Linked DNA regions of Homo sapiens: region 1 is linked to region 2. The links are contacts of gene promoters, found by promoter capture Hi-C in blood cells and fetal thymus (Javierre and others, 2016). All regions are on one chromosome and are shown on one strand. The core of a region is centred on a gene start or on the middle of the fragment in contact, and the rest is flanking DNA. Distances in the headings are between cores, read along the strand shown.

Region 1 (2,700 bases), core at 18-2,517, 2.1 Mb after region 2:
TGTAAACTAGTGAGTTGATGGAGCATTTGCTTCATCATCCTCATCAAGAGAATCATATAAATTAAGCTTTATAATGACATTTCAACCATCAACATAATATAGTGAGGAGTAGCATAATATTTTTTAATAATGCAGAAAACATCACTGAAATGAGAGTCACAAATTTTTCTTCAGTGTTTCAGCCTGAGTAAGTTACATAAACCTCGCTTAGCCTCCCTTCCTGCTAATGTGTAAAATACATACTTGCCCTGGCTACCTCACCGGGCTGTTATTGCTGGAATCAGAGGAGATAACATATATGGAAGATAAAGTGAATAAAAGTACTTTGAAAAACTATAAAGCATTCCACAAATATGAGATGATGGTATTATCCATCCATAAATAGGTAGATATATCTCTATTTTATAGTTTCAGATTAAACAAAACTGATATCAATAGTAAAAGTCATTTTACTTATCAATTTTCTGTTTTTTTTTTTAGTTTTAAAGATATTATTGGCCGGGAGTGGTGGCTCACACCTGTAATCCCAGCACTTTGGGAGATTGAGGTGGGTGGATCACTTGAGGTCAGGAGTTCAACACCAGCCTGGCCAACATAGTGAAACCGTCTCTACTAAAAACACAAAAATTAGCCAGGCATGGTGGCGCATGCCTGTAATCGCAGCCACTCGGGAGGCTGAGGCATGAGGTTTGCTTGAACCTGGGAGATGGAGGTTGCAGTGAGCCAAGATGGTGCCATTACACTCCAGCCTGGGTGACAGAGCAAGACTCCATCTCAAAAAAAAAAAGACAACAAAGATATTATTAATCACTGAACACTATTTTCTCTCAATTATAAGTAATTGAAAATTCTAATCAACCTTAGATTAACCTCAAATGTGCGAAAAAGTGAACACCAAAACTCATTGTGATTTTAAGTTCTAATCATACACATAAAAGTTTTAATAAACTAATAATTATAAAATGAGGCCGGGTACAGTGGCTCACGCCTATAATCCCAGCACTTTGGGAGGCTGAGGCAGACAGATCACAAGGTCAAGAGACTGAGACCATCCTGGCCAACATGGTGAAACCCCATCTCTACTAAAAATACAAAAATTAGCTGGGTGTGGTGGCACATACCTGTAGTCCCAGCTACTCAGGAGGCTGAGGCAGGAGAATCACTTGAACCCAGGAGGTGGAGATTGCAGTGAGCCGAGGTTACACCACTGCACTCCAGCCTGGCAACAGAACAAGACTCCATTTCAAAAAAAGACAAAATGAGAACAAGGTCTTGATCAGTGATTTTGAAATTGTTTTCTTCTACTCAGTCTTCACTTCTGCCTTGAAATTCTTTTGATTTATACCTTTTTTTTTTTTGAGACAGAGTCTCGCTCTTTTGCCCAGGTTAGAGTGCAGTGGCACCATCTTGGCTCACTGCAACCTCCACCTCCTGGGTTCAAGTGATTCTCCTGCCTCAGCCTCCTATTTAATTAATTAATAATTGATTTAATGATTTAGTTTAAAATGTTAAATTCATTTTAAAATAACCCATTACATGTTAACACAAATAGCATGTTTTTATTTTATTTTATTTTGAGACAGAGTCTCACTCTGTTGCCCAGGCTGGAGTGCAATGGTGCGATCTTGGCTCACTTCATCCTCCACCTCCCGGGTTCAGGCAGTTTTCCTGCCTCAGCCTCCTGAGTAGTTGGGACCACAGGTGCCCTCCACCACACCTGGTTAATTTTTGTATTTTTAGTAGAGACGAGGTTTTGCCATGTTGACCAGGCTGGTCTCAAGCTCCTGGCCTCAGGTGATCCGCCTGCCTCAGCCTCCCAAAGTTCTGGGATTACAAAGGCGTGAGCCACCACACTCAGCCATGTTTTTATTTTAAAAATAATTATTTTCAAAAAAAAAATAGAAGAGTAACATTGTTTTATATTTCTGCAAATATTTTTTATTTCTGGCTTAATAGAAGACACTAGATTCTGATATCTGCTTCTGTATCCTATCTGTTGTTATATGCTGTTTTGGTTGAAGTCTGTGAAGAAAATCTGACCCCACTCATATATAAAGTTGGAAAAGGGAGGAGTATTTTAATAGCTTTGTCTGATAATTATGGATACTCTCTTTGATACCACACCAAAATATGACAAGTAGTAGAGTTCCTTAAAGGCTAGTTGCAATGTGGATTCTGAAATCGTATTGATGAGCTTTTCTAAAGTCCATTGGTGTACCTTGTATTTAAATAGAACTTTTACCTATGTGTGATATTTGTAACACCAGTCCAGTGATTGATCATTTGGAAAATATTGGTTCACTGAGTTATGCAAATCTTCCAAATGTTGACACATTTTGATATACAATATCTAAAACAAAATACCATTAATTAATATTACCACCAATCCCATTACAAAAGTCTAAGTCTGAGGAAGCTATAAGGGCACAGAAGTGTATACAAGCCTTCCAAAATTTTAGGTTTCATTTGGAAGCTTGAGTTTTATCATTGGCAACAAATGCCATCAGTTTTTTCCAAGCTGACTTGTTCTTTTTTGAGCAAATCTCTGCCAAAATTACCCCTAAAATATGAATAATCAATTTGTCAGGTTTTTTCAAACTAAAAATGTTCTGTGAAAACAAGCAGCTAGTTCAGCTTGTATCTCAAACAATTGTAACTACTTTTTCTAGGGAAAAAAAAATCTAGACATCCATACTTTAT
Region 2 (2,793 bases), core at 132-2,631:
AAATCCTTGGGCCTCACCACTGAACTAATGACTTAGAACAGGGGTTGGACTGGGGAATTCTGTGTTTTAACAAGTCCTCCAGGTGATTCTGACGCATGCCAGTTTGAGAATCACTTTTTTAAACCAATGTTTAAGTCCAATCTAACCTACTTAACTATTAACAGTCTACCTGGCTATCTACCTGTGGTAGTGTAGTATGTAACAGCCCACAGCACACATGCTCAATTCCAAGCCTATCTGCTCTCCGCAATCAGTATATTCCTCCTGCAATTTATCATGGTATGAAAGGCCCAGTGATACACATATTTGGTCATTTTCAAATAGTGCCTGCCAGCATAGTGGCTCACACCAGTCATCCCAGCACTTTGGTAGGGTGAGGCGAGATGATCATTTGAGCTCAGGAGTTTGAGAACAGCCCGGACAACATGGCGAAACCCCATTTCTACAAAAAAAAAAAAAAAATTAGCCAGCGGTAGTGGCGTGCTACTTGGGAGGCTGAGGTGGGAGGATCCCCTGACCCCTGGAAAGTGGAGACTGCAGTGAGCCATGACTGCACCACTGCACTCCAGTCTGGGCGACAGAGACAGACCCTGTCTGAAAAAAAAGTGCCCTTCACAGAAGCTTCCTCAGGGTATTAGCATGAGCATGTGAAAGTACAGTATGTTTATCAAACACATAAAATAAGCAGTTATAAATAACGTCAGAATAACACAAGGAGGCCAATTATCAAAATGAAAGGCTAGTTTTGCATGCTGTGCTTTGCGGAGAGAAGGAAGAGGGAGTTTTCATGTTATTACACTTTTGATAGCAGAATCCTATATTTTGGTGCAGAGGTGGCAAAATAAGGCGGGGGGTGCTGGTGCGCAGAAGCTGACAAGGTTAGAATGTGCAGCGTTTTTACGACGGACTGGCTTTACTCATTTCCTGCCTCACTTCTCTCCTATCTGTATAGGTTTTTCTTTTCGTCCTCCTCTACCAGTACGCTCCCGCCTGCCGCGCTCCGCCCTTGTGCGGCGCACGATCGGAGTCAGTGATTAAGCCGGCTCCAAGACAAAGCGGAGGCCGAGCCCAGGAAGCAAGCGCGCTCTCCGCCCCGCCTGGAGGGAGGGCCCAACCACAGCACAGCCGCGCTCACTCCTCACCCGGACGTGACCTAGTTCTCACAGAGGCCCGGCCTCTTCCGCCACAACTCCGGCCCGCGGTCCCGCCCCGTTCCGTGAATGGTCGGCCGGCCTCAGGTCAAAAAAGCGTTTAGGTGTCTGCGACGGAGCCTCCGGAGAAAGGCAAGCACGTCGCAGCCAATGAGGTGATAGAAACGCAAAGCAGCGACCAATGACTAGCTGAGTTGGGCTGGGCCGGCCGACGAATCACGAGGCTTCGCACCCGGATATGGTTATGGGCTCGGAAATCTAGTTCGGGAAAAGTGTGAGGGGCTCTTCACGTGGGGAAGGAACAGCAGGCGCGGAGGAGGGGGCAAGCGTGTGTGAGATTCAGTGGTCCATGCGTGCGTTTGTCGTGTAAGGGTCATTCCTGGGGTTTGGAGTGGGGGAACAAATCAATGTGGCTGTTTTTCCGTGGAAAGAATTCCCACTGCAGTGTCCCGGAGCCTGCGTGTGGTGGGCAAGCTCCTCAAATGGTATCTCACAGGGAATAGGGGAGTCTTGAAAACGCAGCTTCGGCAGTAGGAACATGAACCTCTTACCTAAAAGTTCCAGGGAGTTTGGCTCCGTTGACTATTGGGAGAAGTTCTTCCAGCAGCGAGGAAAGAAAGCTTTCGAGTGGTATGGAACCTACCTGGAACTGTGCGGGGTGCTACATAAATATATCAAGCCCAGGGAAAAGGTGAGGAGCGCGGGTTGGTAGCCCTTCGTACGTGCTCCGGAAGGTGGGAACTGGTAACAGGAATCTTGCACTTGGTGGACAGTGACAGGCGGGAGGACCCTAGTTGGACGCATATTTCAGCATTTCCTGCATTGTTCCTGCTAAAAGACAAACTAGAATATTCTTTCAGGCCGGGCGCAGTGGCTCACACCTGTAATCCGAACACTTTGGGAGACCGAGGTGGGAGGATCGCTTGAGCCCTGGAGTTAAAGACCAGCCTGGGGAACATGAGACCTCGTCTCTACAAAAAATGAAAAAATTAGCCGGGCGTGGTGGCGCGCATCTGTATTTCCAGCTACTCGGGAGGCTTAGGCGGGAGGATCGCTTGAGCCCAGGAGGTCGAGGCTGCAGTGAGCCATGATCACGCCACTGCACTCCAGCCTGGGTGACAGAGTGAGACCCTGTCTAAAAAAAAAAACATTTCTTTAAAGGTTTTCAGATAATAGACCTCCCACCCCAGCTCATTCTTGGATTAATAACCCTACTTGAAGAGTGACTTCCCATCTTGAAAGTATGTTCTTCTGTCACTGTGCATTCCTGTGCAACCTGCAGCAGGTGTGACTTTGTGTATGAATTTGTTTTTCAAATAGTCGTTGAGTGCGCCCCAAGTTTCAGGCACTGCTCAGTCCTTAAACTATAAGAGCATTAAGACGTAAACCCTGCACATGTTCCAGAAGTGAAACGTGATAAGTACAACAATGGGTTTGGTATAGGTGAGATTGTACTGGAGGTAGGGAAGGAGGAAGGTAGAAAACTTAACATTTGTGGGGAAGCTTTATGTGCCAAGCCTTATGTTGGGTGCTGTGTATGTGCATGTGCAATCTTTGAATTCTCATCATAAATTCAGGTGAGTGGCCATGCATACATTTTACAGATGAGGAAACTGAGGCCCCGAGAGCCACTTTTTTTTTT

What was found. The method cuts DNA at HindIII sites, captures the fragments that hold promoters and counts their contacts. A CHiCAGO score of 5 or more calls a contact.
Region 1: a contact is called between a fragment that was not itself captured here and the fragment with the promoter of METTL13 in region 2, in 3 of 17 cell types (total CD8 T cells, non-activated CD4 T cells and naive CD8 T cells). The highest score is 7.7, in total CD8 T cells.

Annotation. Positions count from the first base shown.
Region 1 is chr1:173,858,087-173,860,786 of GRCh38, forward strand. It overlaps DARS2 (aspartyl-tRNA synthetase 2, mitochondrial), which reads left to right. Exons shown (of 17, transcript NM_018122.5): 17 at 1-460. Among named protein-coding and RNA genes, the nearest start is that of GAS5-AS1, 3.8 kb to the right of the region's middle. The HindIII fragment of the contact is 2,407 bases long and covers 65-2,471 here.
Region 2 is chr1:171,780,279-171,783,071 of GRCh38, forward strand. It overlaps METTL13 (methyltransferase 13, eEF1A N-terminus and K55), which reads left to right and starts at 1,382. Exons shown (of 8, transcript NM_015935.5): 1 at 1,382-1,842. The coding sequence starts at 1,690. RefSeq lists enhancers at 1,071-1,365, 1,195-1,728. The HindIII fragment of the contact is 1,150 bases long and covers 620-1,769 here.